Linked DNA regions of Homo sapiens: all the other regions are linked to region 2. The links are contacts of gene promoters, found by promoter capture Hi-C in blood cells and fetal thymus (Javierre and others, 2016). All regions are on one chromosome and are shown on one strand. The core of a region is centred on a gene start or on the middle of the fragment in contact, and the rest is flanking DNA. Distances in the headings are between cores, read along the strand shown. Region 1 overlaps LINC02320 (long intergenic non-protein coding RNA 2320). Region 2 holds the start of RTL1 (retrotransposon Gag like 1). Region 3 has its middle 8.7 kb from the start of LINC00524. Region 4 has its middle 64 kb from the start of DIO3. Region 5 overlaps LINC03117 (long intergenic non-protein coding RNA 3117). Region 6 holds the start of LINC02314 (long intergenic non-protein coding RNA 2314). Region 7 overlaps LOC105370673 (a long non-coding RNA gene).

Evidence for each region. Contacts are between HindIII fragments. The CHiCAGO score rates a contact against its expected background, and 5 or more counts as called.
Region 1: a contact is called between a fragment that was not itself captured here and the fragment with the promoter of RTL1 in region 2, in 10 of 17 cell types (M2 macrophages, erythroblasts, naive CD4 T cells and 7 more). The highest score is 8.3, in M2 macrophages.
Region 3: a contact is called between a fragment that was not itself captured here and the fragment with the promoter of RTL1 in region 2, in 1 of 17 cell types (M2 macrophages). The highest score is 6.7, in M2 macrophages.
Region 4: a fragment that was not itself captured here is called in contact with the fragment with the promoter of RTL1 in region 2 in 15 of 17 cell types (naive B cells, naive CD4 T cells, total B cells and 12 more); the score reaches 17.2 in naive B cells.
Region 5: a fragment that was not itself captured here is called in contact with the fragment with the promoter of RTL1 in region 2 in 1 of 17 cell types (M0 macrophages); the score reaches 5.2 in M0 macrophages.
Region 6: a contact is called between the fragment with the promoter of LINC02314 here and the fragment with the promoter of RTL1 in region 2, in 2 of 17 cell types (M1 macrophages and M2 macrophages). The highest score is 6.7, in M1 macrophages.
Region 7: a fragment that was not itself captured here is called in contact with the fragment with the promoter of RTL1 in region 2 in 1 of 17 cell types (naive B cells); the score reaches 5.6 in naive B cells.

The regions. Positions count from the first base shown.
Region 1 is chr14:101,655,533-101,658,385 of GRCh38, forward strand. The region is part of intron 1 of LINC02320 (long intergenic non-protein coding RNA 2320); the gene reads right to left. Among named protein-coding and RNA genes, the nearest start is that of LINC00239, 73 kb to the right of the region's middle. The HindIII fragment of the contact is 3,632 bases long and covers 1-2,853 here.
Region 2 is chr14:100,902,399-100,905,243 of GRCh38, forward strand. RTL1 (retrotransposon Gag like 1) reads right to left here and starts at 1,324. Exons shown (of 4, transcript NM_001134888.3): 1 at 1,207-1,324; 2 at 893-988. All of the region lies in intron 5 of MEG8 (maternally expressed 8, small nucleolar RNA host gene), which reads left to right. The HindIII fragment of the contact is 7,837 bases long and covers 1-2,845 here.
Region 3 is chr14:101,415,311-101,418,010 of GRCh38, forward strand. No RefSeq gene overlaps it. Among named protein-coding and RNA genes, the nearest start is that of LINC00524, 8.7 kb to the left of the region's middle. The HindIII fragment of the contact is 1,432 bases long and covers 728-2,159 here.
Region 4 is chr14:101,624,411-101,627,110 of GRCh38, forward strand. No RefSeq gene overlaps it. Among named protein-coding and RNA genes, the nearest start is that of DIO3, 64 kb to the left of the region's middle. The HindIII fragment of the contact is 4,222 bases long and covers 1-2,700 here.
Region 5 is chr14:101,461,935-101,464,692 of GRCh38, forward strand. It overlaps LINC03117 (long intergenic non-protein coding RNA 3117), which reads right to left. Exons shown (of 4, transcript XR_944220.2): 4 at 2,209-2,758. Among named protein-coding and RNA genes, the nearest start is that of LINC03117, 12 kb to the right of the region's middle. The HindIII fragment of the contact is 2,097 bases long and covers 298-2,394 here.
Region 6 is chr14:101,440,745-101,443,473 of GRCh38, forward strand. It overlaps LINC02314 (long intergenic non-protein coding RNA 2314), which reads left to right and starts at 1,332. Exons shown (of 2, transcript NR_135240.1): 1 at 1,332-1,513. The HindIII fragment of the contact is 14,900 bases long and covers 1-2,729 here.
Region 7 is chr14:101,519,933-101,522,632 of GRCh38, forward strand. LOC105370673 (a long non-coding RNA gene) reads right to left here. Exons shown (of 7, transcript XR_944222.2): 7 at 1,771-2,700. Among named protein-coding and RNA genes, the nearest start is that of DIO3OS, 39 kb to the right of the region's middle. RefSeq lists an enhancer at 2,338-2,700. The HindIII fragment of the contact is 5,992 bases long and covers 1-2,700 here.

The DNA.
Region 1 (2,853 bases), core at 197-2,696, 750 kb after region 2:
GCAAAGTGAGGCAGCAAGTGCTGATGTAGAAGCTGCAGCAAGTTATTCAGAAGACCTAGCTAAGATCATTAATGAAGGCAGCTAGATTAAACAACAGATTTTCAATGTAAATGAAACGGCCTTATATTGGCAGAAGATGCCATCTAGAACTTTCATAGCTACAGAAGAGAAGTCAATGCTGGCTTGAAACATCAAAGGACACGCTGACACTCTTGGCAGGGGCTAATGCAGCTGGTGACTTTGAGTTGAATCCGGTGTTCATTTACCATTCTGCAAATCCTAGGGAATTATGCTAAATCTACTCTGCATGTGTTCTCTAGATGGAACAACAAAACCTGGATGACAGCACGTTTACAGCATGGCTTACTGAATACTTTAAAGCCACTCTTGAGACCCATGCTCAAATTTCTCTCAAAATATTACTGTTCATGACAGTGCCTGTAGTCAACCAACAGCTCTGATGGAGGTGTACAAGGAGATTAATGTTTTTATGCCTGCTAGGACAACGTCCATTCTGCAGCCCATGAGTCAAAGCGTAATTCTGACTTTCAAGTCTTGTTATTTAAGAAACACGTTTCATAACACTATAGCTGCCGTAGGTATGCTTCCCCTGATGGAGCTAGGCAAAGTAAATTGAAAACTTTCTGGAAAGAATTCACAATTCTAGATGCCATTAAGAACATTTGTGATTCATGGGAAGAGGTCAAAATAGCAGCATTAACAGGAGTTTGGGCGGGCACAGTGGCTCGTGCTTGTAATCCCAGCATTTTGGGAGGCTGAGGAGGGCGGATGGCTTGAGTCCAGGAGTTTGAGACCAGCCTGGACAACATGGTAAAACCCCATCTCTACTAAAAATGCAAAAATTAGCTGGCTATGGTGCCGTGCACCTGTAGTCCCAGCTACTTTGGGGGCTGAGATGGGAGGATTACCTGAGCCCAGAAGTCGAGGCTGCAGTGAGCCAAGATCACACCACTGACCTCCAGCCTGGGTGACAAAGTGAGACCTTGTCTCAAAATAAAACAAGAGTTTGGAAGACGTTGGTCCCGACCCTCATGGATAACTTTGAGGGGTTCGAGACATCAGTAGAGGAAGGAACTGCAGATATGATAGAAATAGCAAGAGAACCAGAATTATAAGTGGAGCCTAAAGATGTGACTGGATTGCTACGATCTCATGAGAAAACTTGAACAGATGAGGAGTTGGTTCTTATGGCTGAGCAAATAAAGTGGTTTCTTGAAATGGAATAACTCCTGGTGAAGATGCTGTGAACACTGTTGAAATGACAACAGAGGATTTAGAATATTCCATAAACCCAGTTGATAAAACAGTGGCAGGCTTTGAGAGGACTGACTCCAATTTTGAAAGTTCTACTGTGGGTAAAATGCTGCCAAATAGCATCACAAGCTACAGAGAAATCTTTCATGAAAGGAAAAGTCCATCAATGTGACAAACTTCATTCTTGTTTCATATTAAGAAATTGGGCCAGGCACAATGGCTCATGCCTGTAATCCTAACACTTTGGGAGGCCAAGTGGGGAATATCACTTGAGGCCAGGAGTTCCAGACCAGCCTGGACAATAAAAAGAGACCTTGACTCTACAAAAAAATTAAAGAAATCAGCCAGACACAGTGGCACATGCCTGTAGTCCCAGTTACTCAGGAGGCTAAGGTGGGAGGATCCCTTGAACCCAGGAGTTTGAGGTTGCAGTGAACTATGATTGTGCCACTGCATGCTAGCCTGGGTAAAGAGTGAGACCCTATCTCAAAAAAAAAGAAAGAAAGAAATTGCCACAACCACTGCCAGTAACCACCACCCTGATCAGTCAACAGCCATCAACATCAAGGTAAGATCCTCCACCAGCAAAAAGACTATGACTTGCTGAAGGCTCAGATGATAGTTAGCATTTTTAGCAATGAAGTATTTTGAATTAAGATATGTACATTGCTTTTTAGATATCATGCTATTGCACACTTGAAAGCTACAGAATAGGGTAAACATACTTTTATTTGTTCAGGGAAACCAAAAAAATCATGTGACTCACTTTATTGCAATATCCATTTTATTGTGGTGATCTGGAACCAAACCCACAATACCTCAGAGGTATGCCTGTATTGATATGACTTGAATCATTTTAAATATGTTGAGATTTGTTTTATAGCTCACAATATAGTCAAATATGGTAAACATTCTGTATTTTTAAAAAAGTGTGTCCTCCTGTTGTTGAGTAGAGTGTCCTATAAATGTCAATTAGTTCAAGTTATCAATAGCATTGTTCAAGTTTTCATATTCATACTGACTTTCTATCTAATTGCTCTCAAAAATTATTGAAAAAGAGGTATTGAAATCTCTGATTTTCACTGTGTCTATTTCTCCTTCTGGTTCTATCAGATTTTCTTCATGCATTTTAGAGCTCTTTTGTTAGGTGCATTAACATTTAGAATTGTTTTTGTTCTCTTGGTGAATTGAAATCTTTATCATTATGAAATTGGCTTCCTAGCCATTTGTGGTGGCCCACACCTGTAATCCTAGCACTTTGGGAGGCTGGGGTGGGTGGAACACTTTGAGCTCAGGAGTTCAAGGTCAGCCTGGACAACATGGAGAAACCCTGTCTCTACAAAAAATACAAAAATGAGCCAGGCATGGTGGCTTATGCCTGTGGTCCCAGCTACTCAGGAGGCTAAGGTTGGAGGATCACTTGGCTCGGGAAGCGGAGGTTGCAGTGAGCCGAGATGGCAACACTGCACTCCAGCCTGGGTGACAGAGCGAGACCCTGTCTCAAAAAAAAAAAAAAAAAAAGAAAGAAAAGAAAAGAGGAGAGAGAGAGAGAGAGAAAGAAATTAGTGTCCTTATCCT
Region 2 (2,845 bases), core at 74-2,573:
CCCTGCTGTTCTGCTAAAAGCCCAGGGGAGGGCGTGGTGCTCCCCTCCTGGGGCCAGCTGCTCCATGTCTATCTGTTGAGCGGCTTCTCAGCCCTCTTGGGTTTTCTATGGCCCCTTTTCCAGTTGCTAGGGAGAACGCTCTGTATGCAGCCCCCTGCCTTTTCTGCAGGAGCTGCTGGCCTCCCGGCCAGCCCTGGTCAGCCCTGCAGTAGCAGCAGCAGCAGCAGCAGCAGCAGTAGGCAGCCACAGCAGGGCTGGGGGCTCCCGAGCCAGGCAGACCGGCTTGACTCCCTGCTCTCTAGCTGCAAGACAATTCCCTTTACTTTTCAGACTCGGCTTTTCCCCTGTGAAATGGAGATGAGAGTTTCTCCGTCACTGGCGTGAAGTGAGGACTAAATGAGATAAGTGTAGGCTTGCACACATCAGACACTTCATAAATGCTTGTGGAGTAGACGGTGGGACCCAGGGAGGGAGAGAGAGGTATGTAACAAGTGTCGCAAGAGAGAAAACAGCCTGGCCTTTCAAGACCCTGCTCCCAATACAAACGGGAACCTCTCCTGGCAGAGTCCCCTCTGCTGGCTTAATCGCACAAATCAAGTCAGCCGGAGGCAGCCCCCGGCCTGTGGAACTCACAGTAGATGCAGCAGGCAGCATAAATGACATGCAGAGCCCACATCTGCATTTAATAGACCGAGAATTTGCATTGTATATAACAGCACGAGGGGTAAAGCATGAAGGCATAAAGGAACAGTTTTTCCCGGCGGCTTCCTTGAAGGGCCAGCTTAGACAGGGGTCTGGGGAGGAGAAACTCAGCGGGGTCCGGGCATCCCATAGACTATGGGACAGACATCCATCCATGCACTCATTCTCCAAGCCACCACAGTGTACCTACCTTCCCCGGGCCCAGTCCCAAGCGTGAGGCTGGGGATGAAGTGATGCCGGTGGCTTAGTGATGCCGGTGGCTTCCTGTCCTCGAAGCTCAGTCGGTCTGGTGGGGGAAACAAACAGGGAATAAGACACTGGAAATTGAGGTGATCAAGAGGGGGTGCAGGCATGGAGATTTATGGAGCCCCGTCTTGGAGCCAAGTCCCGAACTGGGCTGTCTGCAAAGAACTCACCCGGGCAATAACCCTGCACACTGGTCTCATGAGCCCCATTAGATTGATGAGGAAACTGAGGCACAGAAAGGCAAAGTCCTATACTCACCGTCTCTCAGCTGGTGTGAGGCTGGGCCAGGATGGAACCCCAGACTCTCCGAGGCTCCCCACCACACCCTGCTGCTGAAGGCTGCTCAGCGAGGCTGTGCCGAGTGCTGGGGGGGTGTGGGTGGGCAGGGGACGGATTGATTAGTTATAAGCACCTCCCAGCGGTGCTTGAGATCCCAGCTCCTCTGTGGCCCAATCCGTTTGAAGGGCAGATTCAAAATTAGGTGGTAGCACCTATGGGCAGAGGCTTATGAAAATGGCATTATTAACCTGATGTGGAGAGGGCCCTGCCTGTCTGCAAGTAGATTGCAGATAGAGACGGAGGGGGCTGGGCTTGTTTGTGTGGACAGTGAGTTAGAGAGGACAGAGAACATCCAGGGGCCCTCCAGGGCTTCCGGACGGGGAGAACCAGATCTGGAGGGGCTGGACAAGTGGGAGGGGGAAGAGGGGTACGTCTTAAGGGTGCCCCGGCACCTCAGGGAAATGCCCCAGGCTGGACTTGGAGGAGGATCTCCAGCCTTGACTCTGACACAGACAGGGACTATGGCCCTCCCCGCACCTCGGTTTCCCATCTGTGAGATAAGAGATGGAAACCAAACGTCATTTCGAGAAAAGCCCCCATTCCCACCACCCTCCTGGCCCCCCCCTTCCCCCACCACCCCAATCACGTTTGCCAGACACCTGTCTGCTTGTCAGAGCAATATTCAACAGGAGAGTTCCTTCGCTTCCTCCCTGGAGGGAGAAGGGAGAGGTGTGGACGGGGAGAGGGGAGGGGAGAGGTGCCCCCCACTCAGAGAGGCCGCTGAGCAGAGTTCTGCATCGGGTAGGAGTTGGGCCACCGAAGATTTGTGCCAACTCACGGTGCGGTGGAATCAGACAGTCTGAATTCTTCAGACACCAGCCAAGAGTCTGTGGCGCCCCCACGTGCCACAAGGGGGCTGCCTGGGCCACATTTCTGAGCCCGAAAAGTGAGGAGGGGGACAGTCAAGAGGGACCGGCGCTTTTGCTCTGGCAGCGGCGCTTTTAACTGCGACAGATGCGTGCGGTGCGGCGGGGGAGCCGGCCGTGCCGGGGCTGGGGGCTGCTGGGCGGGGGTGGTCGGGGCGGGGGGCGGGGGCTGCAGGTTGCGCCCCTCCCTCACAGACGGCTGCGCTGCAATGCAGCAGGCTGCGGGAGCTGTCCCGGGAGCTGTCCTGTCCGGTGGCCGGCTTTCCAAAGTGGGGAACGAGAGATGAGGGAGGGAGCACTTCCAGGCGCTGCGTGGTGGCCAGGCGCCCAGGAAGCCGAGGGGCCCGAGACTCTGCAGCGGGGCCAGAAAGAGAAGAGTGGGGGAGGAGGCCGGGAGTGGTGCATGGACCAGGGGGTAGAGGGAGGTGGGTGTGGACCTGGGGTCGGGCGCCAGTCAGCTTGCAGCCTATGAAGGACGGAAAGGAGGGCTACAGAGATAGGGGAAGAGTGGGGCTGAGGATAGCCAGAGCGGCTTGGCACACAGTTTTAGGGTAAAAGCATCAACTCTTATCTTTCCAAAAGAAATAAAAAAGCCAAAAAAAAAAAAAAAGGCATTTGAAAGCTAGACAGCTGAATCCTTCCCAGCATGACTGAGCCGGTCACTCCAGGGTCTTCCTTCAAAGCGTGTCTAA
Region 3 (2,700 bases), core at 194-2,693, 510 kb after region 2:
TCTCAGTGCCCAGTTTCCTCACCTATAAAATGGGGCCTCAGAGAGCCATTATGAGGTTTACATGGGATAATAAGGTAATTTGACCCAGGTAAAGCACTTAGAATAGTACCTGGCTCATTGAAGCATTCATTAAATGTTAGCTCATATTGTAGATTTACATTATAGACATTATCTGACAACACTCTGCACAGCCCGCCCCCCCTTGGAAATGTGAACTTCATGTGGTACATTTTAGCATTGCTTCTCTTCGCCGTCCAGAGCAACATGATATACACAAAAGAGTCAGTAGACAGCAGTCCGGAGACTTGAGCTCTGAGCTCCGCTGAGATGCCACTAAGCTTCAGGATGGAAGACAACACTTTTCTCTATGCCTCATTCCAGGACTCAAATTATAAAAGAAAGGGTTTACTAAGCTGATCCCTATGGTTCCTTCTAGCATATAAAAGTTATGATCATCTGAATATTATAAAGCAATAGATGAAGTTTGGGCTGTGTTTAGTAAACAATCTCTATGTTTTTATGGTTAGGATTTTATTCTGAGGCTAGAATTCACACAAAAACGTCCAGTATCGACAGAGAAGGAATCCAATCCATTTCATTGGAACAAAGAACAGCCTTAGAGATTTTTCAAGAAGTTTCAGGCCGAGTCACCCAGTCTCCCAGTCTACCGTATAACTGCTGGTTGAAGCTGGAGAGAAGACATTAGTGGCTCATGCACAAACTTTAAAGCTTAATTTATGTGAGAACATAAATTGATACAACCTCACTACTATGAGATTAAATAATATGTATCAATAGTCTAAACAATACACAGTAATTATGTTTCTAGGAATCTCTCCTGAGGAAATACAATTAAAGTGGGAAATTAGATAATAGGGATTAGTAGTCTACAATAGTCTAAACTATACAAAGTAATTACATTTCTAAGACTCCTGAGGAAACACAATTAAAGTATCCTTTTTTCATGCTTTTGGGACCAGCAATTGGAGAATCTGCCCAGCTCATTGAAAAGCCAGTTAAATAGGGAAATCTTAAACAATGGTGCAAATATACCATAAATACGTTGTTATAAGTTACAATATAAAAATATGAATTTTCTCACCAGTCTTGCAATAAAGGACCAAGGCTCTTCTCTGAGTATCACTCATGTTCTGATTGGAATTATGTGCCCTCTTTCTTGCACAAAACACGCCTATATAATTCATGCTCTTAATTTTGAGTTTTGGTTTCTTTAAAGTGGAACACAAACTTAAATATTTGGAGGACAATGTGACAGTAGACACTTTCTCCATTTTACCATTTTATTTTCTCAAATTGTTCAGTTTCCTGGCTCATAATCTAGTTTTATAGCAACTGTATTATTACTTCACTTTATTGCATCTCCCCAAAGCATTCTACTTAGTTTTTATAGTTTATATGGAAGCAACCACCCTCTTTCTTTTCTCACTCATATTTCACAGGTTAGTATTCCAACCAATGACATCACAACAACTGTCATAAACAGGTTTGAGAACAAACACGGTAATTAACTCTTGGTAAGCCCATATTCCAAATAGTGGGAGAAGGAAGACTGAGGCTTCCCGATGCAAGCGGCATATTTACCGAAGGCATAGAAGACGTCAGCGAATCCAGCAAAACAATGCAGGGAAACAGTGATTATGAGGGTTCCTTCTGTAGTCAAATATGTCATCAAAGGTTTATGTTTAAAGATGTTTGAACATCTGGAATAGTAACTGATGCTGGCAGAAATATAGAAACTATATAAGTTTACAATGAGAAAATAGCTAAGTAACATAAAACATATGATGAAATGGTATGTAGACATCAAAAACTGCATTTTAAAAACTATTTTATGATATAGAAGATGCCCATATTATGATCTAATGTATAATTCAATAAAGATTTACCAAGCAATAGAAAATTTTGTAAATTCTGAAAAAAAAGTCTATTTTCTATCTTTCTTATAAAAACCAAAGTGGGCCAGGACTTGGAAAACGGGACTGATGTCATGTTGAACTCCTCGCTTCCTTTGACCTTGATCTATTTGGAGTTTAGGCATTGTTTTTAAGAAGAAAACATGCCGCGCAGGTTCTCTAATAATAAAATGCACATAACCTCAAGAAAAGGTGGGGTCATTTTTCTTCTTATATGGCCAAGTAAGCTTCTCCTAGACCTTCCTGCAGATAACCACTATCAACTTTGGATAAAAATATAAAATAAGGCTTCTGTTCACTAGACTGTGAGTAAAAAGCAGGAAGACTCTAGCAGCAAGCTAGAGGAAAAAAAATGCCAAGAGGTGAAATTCCCATTTTTATAGCTTTTAGCCTGAGGGCATGTCAAAGTTGTCACCATGTAAGTGAGTGAATCTCTAAAAGAAAACGTTTTGTTTTTCTGGGCTGAAGACAACAGAGTTCAGAACAACTAGGGTCACTGGAGGATGAGGGAGTAATTCTGGAAAAGAGACAAGCACAGAAGAAGCACCCCAAATTTTCTAAGTGAAATCTGAACCTTATATGTGAGAGGTGGATTCAAAGCAGCTAAACTAAGTGTAAAAAACTGAACTAAAATTCAAACTGCTCCAGGGGAAAGAGTTTTCAGTTTGAGTCCAATCAAATTAATTATCTGCCCTTTGAAAAAATCAGTGTTCTTCCGAGAAATATAACAGAATCCAGATGGCATTCACAATGTCCAGGATACGAT
Region 4 (2,700 bases), core at 47-2,546, 720 kb after region 2:
TCCGCAGCACTGCACCTTCACCCTGCATTCGGTCATGATCGCACTGCTCACTGTCTGCCTCCCTCTCTAGATTGTCAGCGCCCTGAGATCAGGATTCTGACCTTCTTGTTCACAACTGGAACCCCAGTGCCGAGAAGGGGCCTGCTGTGAGCAGGGCAGAGCATGTGCACCCACTGAGTGAGCGAGTGACCATTGCAGCCTCACTCCTGCGCTGCATTCCGCAGCATTCTTTCACATCCATGGTTTCCCCCGAGGCCCCTCAGGAACAAAGGCTCAGAGAGGGTGGGAGAAGTGTGCAGGGTCACACGTGCTTCCCCTCCTCCCTTTATGGGGTCCTGTGGAGGAAGGGGAGGCCTGACTGCACACTGCAGAGGCCAGGGCAGGGCAGAGAGACTCCCACGCATGCTACTCCAGGGATGGGGCCTGGAGGGAGGCTCCCGTGCGTGCTAGTCCAGGGCCTGTGGAGGAAGGAGACGCCTGACCTCACACTGCAGAGGCCGGGGCAGGGCAGGGAGATTCCTGTGCATGCTACTCTAGGGATGGGGCCTGGATTCTTCAGTGGGTCCCTGGGCAAGTCAGGCTCCCTAAATGCCCCACTGTAGGTGCCTGCAGTAACAAGAACAAGAAGGGCAGGGCATGCAGCAAAGCCACAAGGCACAGGCTGCGCACACCTACTGGCTGTGACCCTGAGCAAGTTACATAACTACTCTGTGCCTCAATGCTCTCATCTGTAAAGTGAGAGTAACAATTTCTGCCTACCTGACAGGGCTAAGGGAGGATTAAATGAACCAATATCTGAAAGTTCTCAGCATGATGCCTGGCCGATGAAAAAAACCTCAGAAAGTGTTAGTACTACTACTACTAATAATAATAATAAGCAATAACAATGAAGAGTTCATGGCCCCGTGACAGTGGTGCCTGGCACTGACCTCTGTGTTTGTTCTAATTCTCTCAAGACCCCTGAGAATAACTGCCACACAGATGTCAGCACAGGGGCTGGGCCTCCCTGCCCACTTTCTGCTTCCCAGAAAGTGGCCAACTTCCCCCTGGCCAACTATGCTTTCTAGCCAATATGTAAGTTATGGCTTTTCCTCTGTGGCTCAGCATAGGGAGCAGGGCAGGAGAAAGGCAGGGACTCCACCAAGGTCACACAAAGAGTGCCAGTGGGGCCTGGTCCACCCTTCTCAGGAAGGTCTGAGCTCCCTGTCCTGTGCTCCCATAATACCTAACCTTCACCTTGCAGATGAGTCACTGCAACTGTGCTTGCTCTTTAAGGTCTACCTTGCCTGTAAAAGCCAGAGCTGTTCATGCAAAATTTCCTGCACCTGGGCCTGAGTCAGAGTTGGTTCTCAACCAATATTTTTTAGTGGATGAGTAGGTAGGTGGATGGATGGATGATTGGATGGATGGATGGATGGATGGATGGATGGATGGATGCATGGATGCATGGACTGACAGATGGATAGGTGGATGGATGGTTAAGTAGGTGGGTGGATGGATGGATGGATGGATGGATGGATGGATGGATGGATGGATGGATAGATGGATGGATGCATGGATCGACAGATGGATAGGTGGATGTATGGTTAAGTGGGTGGGTGAATGGATGGATGGATGGATGGATAGATGAGTTCCAGTGTGAATGGATGGGTGGATGGATAGGTGGATGAGTCCTGAGATGAATGGATGGGTGGAGGGTAAGTGGATGAGTTCCAGAATGAATAGGTTTGTGGATGAGTTTGTGGATGGGTTGTGGCTGGGTAGACTTCAGAGACAGCACTCTCCTGGGACATATCATTGAGCCTTTCCCCATAATCTGAAACACAAGGAGGCTTCAATGGTGTGGGATCCAAATGGGATCCAAAAAAGATTCTAAAACCTTCTGAGTCAAGTGCATTTGGCCTCAGTGGGCCTCAGTCTATCCATCATGAAGTTGTGAGAAGAGGACCAGCCTGCCTGTGTTTCACGATTCCCGGGATGAACCCTCCTTAAAGGAGAGGTACAGTAGCACCTTGAAAAGGGTAAGTGCTGCAAAGACCTGGTTTAGAGGATAATGTTAGCCCTGCCAAGGGTACCAAGGGTGCAGCAGGGAGACACGCCCTGCCAGGCCTGTCCTGGGAGCATGCACGGGTTTGCCCTGGCAGGCATGCAGGTAGAGGGAGACAGCCGCCCTCAAGGCACTCATGCCCTCTAACCCAGTAATTCCACTTCTAAGAATGGACCCTAAGGAGGTAGTCAAGGATTTCCAGAGAGACTCACCTATGAGTGTGGTCATTGCAGGGTCAGAAAAGGGAAGATGTCCATGTAATAACAGACTTCAGCGTAAATAACTCATTTCTCTACACTGCAGGGCACTCCTCCACAGCGGAATATTACGCAGCTGTTCAAAGTGGGTTTTTGAAGAATGACTACATGGCATGGGAAACTCTTAAAAGATTACTGGAAAAAAATCAAGATAAGACAAACTGCACGTGGAGTAAGATCTCATGCCTATTGGGAGGAAGTCTCTTTCTGAGTATTTGCTTGGGAAAAAAGTCCTCAATAGGTATATACCAGAACGCCTGGTTATCTCTAGGTGGGGGGATTATAGCGTTTTTTCTTCCTAGTAATTTTCCATATTATCCAAATTGCATTTCAGGGGTGCAGGCCAGGGGGTGGCCCTGAGTGGGCCTCTGTCTCTGAACTTCCTTCCCTGGGGAC
Region 5 (2,758 bases), core at 96-2,595, 560 kb after region 2:
TATGCAATGTATAAGGAAAGGAAAGCATGGCCCATGTGAGCACAGCATTAGGGCCTTGGAACTCCGTGTTTAGCACCCCCCATGCTGCAGCCAAACATTGACACCCCAAGTTCTAGGACCCCATGAGATGGTGCCTTGCCTAGCCAGCTGCGTTGATGTGTGGGAAGGGGCATGTTGCGGAAATCCTCCAGCAGGTCCTGGCTCCTGTCCTGTGCCCAGCACTGGCGTTCTTGTTCAGAGAACAAAGGCCCGGAGGCCCCTGCAGAACCAAGAAAGCCTGAAAGCCGTGGCTTTCAAAGCTTGCTGACCGTGGCTGGGGTAAGAAATACATTGTGCATCTCAGCCCACGGCAAGCCAGACAACTATGTATAAAATAATTAATTAACTATACCTAGATAACCAAAACACAATTTTTGCAAAAGAATGGTTCTCTTACTAGACGTCATGAATGCTGATCTCTGTTCATCCTATTTCTTTTTTCCAAATAATGGCTGCCACCCCTGAAACAATCCCATGATCCTAATGGGCTGCAGCGTGGAGCTTGCAGACCACCCTTTAGAGCTGAGGTTGTGTGGGTTAAGCCTGAGTGGAGGGAGACCCGCAGTTCCTTCCTGCTGCATCTCCTGCCCCCACTTCCAGCCCTGGAGTCAGAACCTCCTGCTGGAATCCTAGCCACCACTTCCTACTATGACATTGAGAGGCCACCTCCCCTCCTGAGCTGGAGCCTCTGCTTCTTCCTCTTAGAATGAGGAGGACAACTCCCTGCTAGGGTCTTAGAGAGGATTCAGCGAGATCATGTACCAGATGAGGTCTTGACTCAATGTGTCTGCCCAGGCTAGCACCTGACAGTCATCTGTCACTTTTGATCCTGTGCCTCCCTGGGGCCCAAGATGTCTTCTCCCCTACCCCCCAGTAGCCCTCCAGTAAAATCCTCCTCCCCCCTTCCAATTCCACTCCAGTCTTCTCCTTGGGCCAGCTCCTCCTCAAGCCCCACTGCAGATTTTGGGACTCACAGATCTGTGCAGCGCGGATTAAGGCCTGCCACCCTGGTGGACTCTCAGGCCTGGGCTCTGCCTGGCTCGCCGGCATTTATAGACACATGTCTGATTGCCAGTTAGCCCCGATCCAACCTCAACAGCACTGTGGACACAGAGGCTGTGCTTCTTCCCATTTGCAGATAAAGTATATGGGGCCCAGGAGGTATCATCATGTGACCGTGAGTCGCACAGTTAGTGGCAGAGCTGGGGTAGGCTAGCTCTCCTGGCCTTCAAAGACCATCATGCTCATGGCCCAGAGTCCTTCCTCCTGGCAGGGCACTAGGGCCCTTTCTGACAGGCTCGCAGCAACCAGATTTGTTCCCTGGCTGCCCACCTCCACGTCCTCCACCCTGGGAGAGCTGAGTTCGTTTTCCTTTGACTGTTTTTTTAATGCTTCCCTCAGGAGGCAGGCCACAGTCTTCCTGCACCACCCTCACGGGCTCTCACTGCTGGAGCAATGATTACTCACAGATTTACCCAAGGAGAGTGTGTACTTGGAATGGCTGTCCGTGTGTTCCCTGTGCACACACACACGCATACCCGCACATACACTGTGGTGACCTGACACACACACTTCCGTGATCTCACACACTCGTGCACACACACACACTGCCCTGATCTCACACAAACACACAAACACTGCCCTGATGTCACACACACACACTACCCTGATCTCACACACTCATGCACACACACACACACTGCCCTGATCTCATACACACACACACACACTCTGCCCTAATCTCACACAAACACTGCCCTTTGCCCTGATCTCTCTCTCTCACATACTGTCCTGATCTCACACACTCATGCACACAAACACACACTGCCCTAACCTCACACACAGACACACACACACTGCCCTGATATCATACACACACACACAGACACACACATACTGCCCTGATATCACACTCATGCACACACACTGCCCTGATCTCACACACTCATGCACACAGACACACTGCCCTGATGTCACACACACACACACACGCACACTGCCCTGATCTCACACATACACATACACACTGCCCTGATCTCTCTCACACACCCACTGCCCTGATGTCACACACACACACACACACACACACTACCCTGATCTCACACAATCATGCACACATACACACACTTCCCTGACCCTATCACTCTGCACATTGGAGCTAAGCTCATGAAGGCTGCTCATGCATTTTATTTGGCAAGTCTCTCTCACATCTTTAATCACACTAGCCTGCCCACTGCCAATCAATAAAGATTAGGAAATCGATTGCTAACTTACTCTTGGGTTAGATAATAAAATTGTTTGAAACATGCACCTGGAGGAATTTATCTGTGAAGAGTCCTTTCAGAGTTTGTTTCAAGCTTTGCAAGTCTCTCATGGCTCTGAGGTCGGGGAGGCTGTGAGGGATCCTCCACGCCCAGCAGACGTGGAAGGAGCCGACGTTCTTACGGGAGATGGACAGACGGTCAGCATGTGAATAGTCCCCTGCATGCAGGTGAGGACTGGGGCAGTGCAGAGCCGCAGCAGGGATGGGCTATGCCTGGGAGCCGCCAGCTCTGGATCAGGTGGCCAGGGACGGTCATGCTGAAGAGGAAGGCTCCAGTGAAGCTCTGGAAGAATGTTCTGGTGCCTGTATGTACAAAGGCCCCCCTAATTCAGGACCTGGCCCTGTACAGATGAGGAGCAGGAAGGAGCCAGTGTAACTGAGGCCAGTGTGGCTGCA
Region 6 (2,729 bases), core at 82-2,581, 540 kb after region 2:
AAAGATAAGATGCCTTCGGCAGGGGAGGCTATGACAACCAACGAGAAAAATGGAAAAACACCAATTGGATGGGTCTGCAGTTGATCACTTGCTCTTCCTTGGTCAAGTTCATGAGCCTGTCTCCTGTTTCGAGGATACATGCTTTTATAAATGTTAAATAAGCTAACACTGCTGAAAGGGCATTGCTAATGGAGGTCTGTGGAAATAGAGGGAAATATTTCTAATTAGAAGGTATGGATTGGGCACTCACTGTGTGCCAAGCACTACAGTGGACCCTGAAATGAGTCAGCCACAGACTCGGTCCTCCAAGATCCCCGCTCCTCCAGCTCCATTCATTTTAGCCCGATGCAATGAGGCTTCTTTCTGCCTTCAGGAATTGCTTGGGCAATGGTTCCCAGGACCTTCTGACTCAGAGGATTCCACAGACTTTTCAGCCCTTTCTTCTGGGAGGTCTCCGTGGCCTTCCCACCACTGCCTCAGTCTTGTGGTGGTGCCGCTCCCCATGGGGGCTTCTCCCACCCTCCCGGCTGCTCCTCCCCCACCTCCTGAGCCCACCTCTAGAGGCTGGGTCATCTCGGGCTGTTCCTGCGGTCTCTTCTGCTCTCTAAATACCCACTGTCCAGGAACGCCCACCCTGCGGTGGCCTCAGCTCCCACCTACAAGCCCAGGACTTTTCTCCCAAGTCCTAATCTTATTAAATATGCTGCCTGCCTGCAGGCTGTATTCACCAGCCATCTTCTCGCCTTCGCCCAGGAGTTGATACCACCACTGAGAGGGCACTGCCAAGCACCTATGCAGGGAGGCCCGGGTCCCTCTGGGCCCTGTCCGGGCCACATCCTCAGCATTTCTCTCCGTCTCAACAGCTCAAGCCCTGTGGTACCTCTTGCTGAGCCTCTGGGGTTCTCCCAGAAGGCCAGCCCCACCCTCGTCTGACCCCACAGTCCTGCCTCTCCAGTGCGGCTAGACTGTCTTCCCCAGCTGACGCCCATCTGCGGTTCCCCACGGCCAGTCTCAACAGTCTCCTGCCTGCACCCACTCCTCAGCCTTCTCCATTGGAGGCTCCCCTCCTCAGACACACAGGCCTGTCTGCTGCCCCATCGTCTCTGCGCAGGCTGCTCTCTCGGTGTCCCTGGCCCATGCCCACTCCACGCTCCAGGGCTCAGCCTCCTCTCCCGCTCTCCACCCCACCCTTCGTCTCCTGCCCTCCACCCCACCCCTCCTTTCCCGCCCTCCACCACACCCCTCCTCTCGGGCTCCTGGGCACCCCCCCGCCACCTGCGTCTCCTGTCGTCAGCAAAATGCACTATTTGCTCATCCAGTGCCCACAGTTTGCCCACCGGACGGCCCTGCTAGGTGGGAAGCTCCTTGCAGGCAGGAACCCCATCTCCTTGACTTTACTTTGGAATCCCCGCAGCCTCATACGGGGCTGAGGCAGGTCCTTCCGTAAAATGGAACTGAATGAGCGGCGCTTAATCCATCCGCCAAAGGCCAGTCTCCCTTGGGTTTTCAACAGGTAACATGAGCTTTTAAAAATGAGTCTTGTTAAATGAAGTGCCCTGATTTTCAAAGTTATGCCCACACAGAACGACAGGGCAGGGGCTCCCTTCCAGAATGACAGAGCCCTGGGGCTCGTCTGACCACTTCTCCACCCCCAGATTCCTCTCATCACCCGATGCCTTTACTTTGGGACTCTTCCAGGTCGTTCCTCACCTCGTGCAGCATTGCTGTGAGTGGGCGACAAGGAACCTCGTGGTCTCCGTGTGCTTTGCGGGGACCACCTCTTCGCAGGGGCCGCCACCTGCCTCTCCGGCGCTGCATCCTTAGCATCCCCACTGCCCCCGGATCTCCTTCAGGGAGGTGCGGCGGCAGAGCGGCCCCAGCAGCCTCCTCCTGTGGCCCAGGCGCACCAAGGCGAGCGCGGCCACGAGTTCCGGCCCAGCGCCACCCAGACTCTTTGATGTGGGTTTGTGTGTGGGAGAGTAAAAGATGCACACACCCTCCGCAAGTCTAGAATTTGTGGTTTTTGTTATCTCACAACTTCATATTTGGAAGAAGTATTTTAATGTCTTATGAGTTGTGAATAATTATGTAATTCTGCCACTTTCTCAAAACCAAGATTTTTCAAACGGACTGCTCTAGTCTGGAGCTGACATCCTTAAGAGAACTTTGCTTTTTTTCCTGTGGGTTTTAAGCAAGAGTGTGCCAAATGAATTCTTTCGTCCGCTTAAAACAGTTCATTAGGGGGAACCATCCTGTAAAAGGAAAGGAAAGGAAAGGAAAATCCTTCCTTCTTCAAATGAATTCTCAAAAATTACTTCTGAGATGCAAATGCTGCCTGAGTGTTTGAGCTCCGTGAGAGAGTCCACTTCCCAACTTGTTTTCAGTCTGCTGTTGGGTGCTACTGAATTTCTTAAACATTGTGTTTCTCCCTTATCTGTGAATTAGCCATGTGTTCTTTGGAATCTCTTCCTGGGTCTTCGTTATTCTTCCTCAGTTATTTAAGAACCTAGGGAAGGCCCGGCGTGGTGGCTCACGCCTGTAATCCCAGTACTTTGGGAGGCCGAAGCGGGCGGATCACCTGAGGCCGGGAGTTTGAGACCGGCCTGACCGACATGGAGAATCTAAAAATGCAAAATTAGCCGGGCGTGGTGGCGGGCGCCTGTAATCCCAGCTACTCGGGAGACTGAGGCAAGAGAATCGCTTAAACCTGGGAGGCGGAGGTTGCAGTG
Region 7 (2,700 bases), core at 122-2,621, 620 kb after region 2:
CCCTTGAGGATGACAGGGACCAACTTTTCTTTGCCATTTCCAGTCTTCAGTTGGCCTTGGACAGAGCCCAAGATCTCATGAGGAAGGAGCAGAGAGGCCTTTTGGTGTTGCTGCAAACATCATGGGGCCCAGAAAAAGACGTCACTGAGATCCTGGGACGGCAGCACTGGAAGGGCCTAGGACATCACAACCCCACCCTGCTCCATCTTGACCTCAGTTTCCCCATCACTGGAACCAAACATGAGCTCAGGCTCATGTCCCCGCAAGTCCCCAGTCACCCACCGTAACTGAGTGGGATGGAGACGGAGGGGTTCGTTTTGGGGGGCACCTTGAGAGGCCAGACATGACCAGGCCCTTCACGTACAGCGGGGCTGTTCCCCAACCTCCCACCTGGGACAGAGGCTGGTGGTGATGCCCCAGTTTGGCCTTCTTCACACCAGGAGTCACACAGATCTGGTGTCCAGCCCCTGCCCCATCACTTACAGCTGTGCGGCTTTGTGTAAGCACCTTGACCTCTCTGAGCCCGAGGCCACTGATGCGTGGAATGGGAATAAGTCATCACTAAGTGGACTTCAGAGTCTGCAGCGGCGCCCTAGATCACAGCGGCTCTGAGAAGGACTCAGAAACTGTGAAGGACGTGCACCTGGGAGGAATCCCAGCTACCAGGGCCGGGCTCGCCTTCCCTGAGCACGCAGTGATGTGAGGCGGGGGCTGGGGGTGCAGACCCAGCCTGGAAGCCCAGTCCTGCCGTTCGTTCGTCAGGTGTCTGCTCCTCTGAGTGCTCAGGGTGGGGCTAGAATGATACTGGAGACCAGCGCCAGGCCTGTGCCCCGCACACAGCAGGCGCTCGGGAAGTGCTCAACCAGAGCAGGCGCACGAGCAGAGCGGGCTTCAAGAAGCAGCCCAAACGCTACGCCCTGGAAACCTCCAGGCCCAAGAGGTCAGACCTGCAGAACCCAGGGAACCACGCAGCCCTAGCCGCAGCCCCACCTCAGGGTGACCCCTGGGCTGCCATTATGCCTGGAAACACTTGGACGGGTACCTAGCGGGGAGCTGTGGAGCTGTTTGTGGAAAGAAGTGAAACAATGGAAGCCAGCTCATTCTGAGCTGAGTCCCTTCTTCCAGAGTGGTGATTTAGAAGGAAAAAAACATTGCCCAAATCACAGCGGCAAAATCCTGCAATTGCCAGAGAAACAGAGGTCGGTGGCCAAGAAGGATTGCAACACAATGGCCTGGGAAGACGTTCACTCGTGCCAAGCCCTGAAGGACCGAAGCTCAGGGCACCTTCCTGGCTGCCTGGCCTGGCCCCGGGGCCTGGAACCTGGACCCCTCACCCTGGATGTTCAAGTTCTACCCCCAGGGATGGACAGCGTGCGACTAGGGTGGCCACAGGACTCCACAGTGTGCAAAGGGGTGCCCCGGGAGACTCCCGGAGCCTTTGAGCGTGGGGGTGGGGATGAGGACATCTAGAATCAGGAGGTGGGGGAGGGGCTCGGACAGGTTTCAGGGATGGCTAGGGAGCCAGCTGTCTGCCTCCACATTGGCACCAGCGGTCCAGAGCTGTGGGCAGGAAGCCTGGAGGAACTGAGAGGGGCGGGGGGCCCTGTTAGGAGACACGGGAGAAGGGAGGGAGCCGGGCATTGCATTCCTGGAAAGGGGCCCTTGGTCCATACCCCCCCAGACCCCCATGGCCCCAGCATTGTAGCCACAGCTCAGCCAGCCACCCCCGCCAGCCCTCCCACGGCAGGCCTTCCTGGCCATCCCCTGAACCGCGTGGGCCCGTGCTGCCAGGCTGCCCGGACTGGCCAGCTGAGCTAGGGATCATTTCCTGGACCCATTAATCACTGGATCGGGTTCCATGTCGGCAACAATAGCTCAACCCCAGGCCAGTTGGCCTCCGAGTCTGTCGACCCCCGCTCTGATGCCCCAGCTCTCCAGGTCTTGATCAAGGCGGTGGGGTTAAAAGTGGCCATCGTGACTGTGTGCTGCCCACTTACTGTGTGCAGGGCCTGGGAGATCCCAGAAGAGAATGAGGCCAGTGCCCAGTGAGGACCCGGGGGCTCATGTGGGACAGGGAGCTAGCAGGGATGTCTAACACACAGCAGCACCCACAGCTCGCAGGAGGGGCTGATACTCACCAACCCCACTCTGCCGTTACCTCCCTCCCCAAAACCCACATGTCTGATGCCCATGGCCCTCCACCAATAAAATACCGGAAAGGGAAAGGAAGGAAGAGGCTGCAAGTTCATCTGATGTCCAGACACTGGGTGTGGCAAGTTTCCCAGCAAGTGAGCTCACAGTTGGGAGTGGAAGCCCCCATCCTTCGGACCAAGGTCTTGAGAGCTGCAGCCTCAGGTGCCAGCCACGGCCATCACCCCTGCAGTCCACAGCTGCTGCCAGACAGTCTGAACTCCTGAGCGGAGTCTTGAGTCTCCGGGTGGGAGCAGAGCTGTTCTGGATGGCCAGTCTCTTCTAAGCAGGGTCTACAGAATCGTCCGTGGTGGGCAGTAGCCACTGTGGCAGGGCCTCCAGAGTGCAAGTGCTCAGATTTGTCCAGAAGCCCTGCCGGCCTCCAGAATCCTCAGGTGTGGAGGACATGGCATCTGCAGGCCTCGAAGGAGAGCAGGATGGAAGGGCAGGGGTTCCACTTCAGGTGTAAAGCACAGCCCAGGCAAAGCCAGGAGAAGGAGCTGTGCCCAG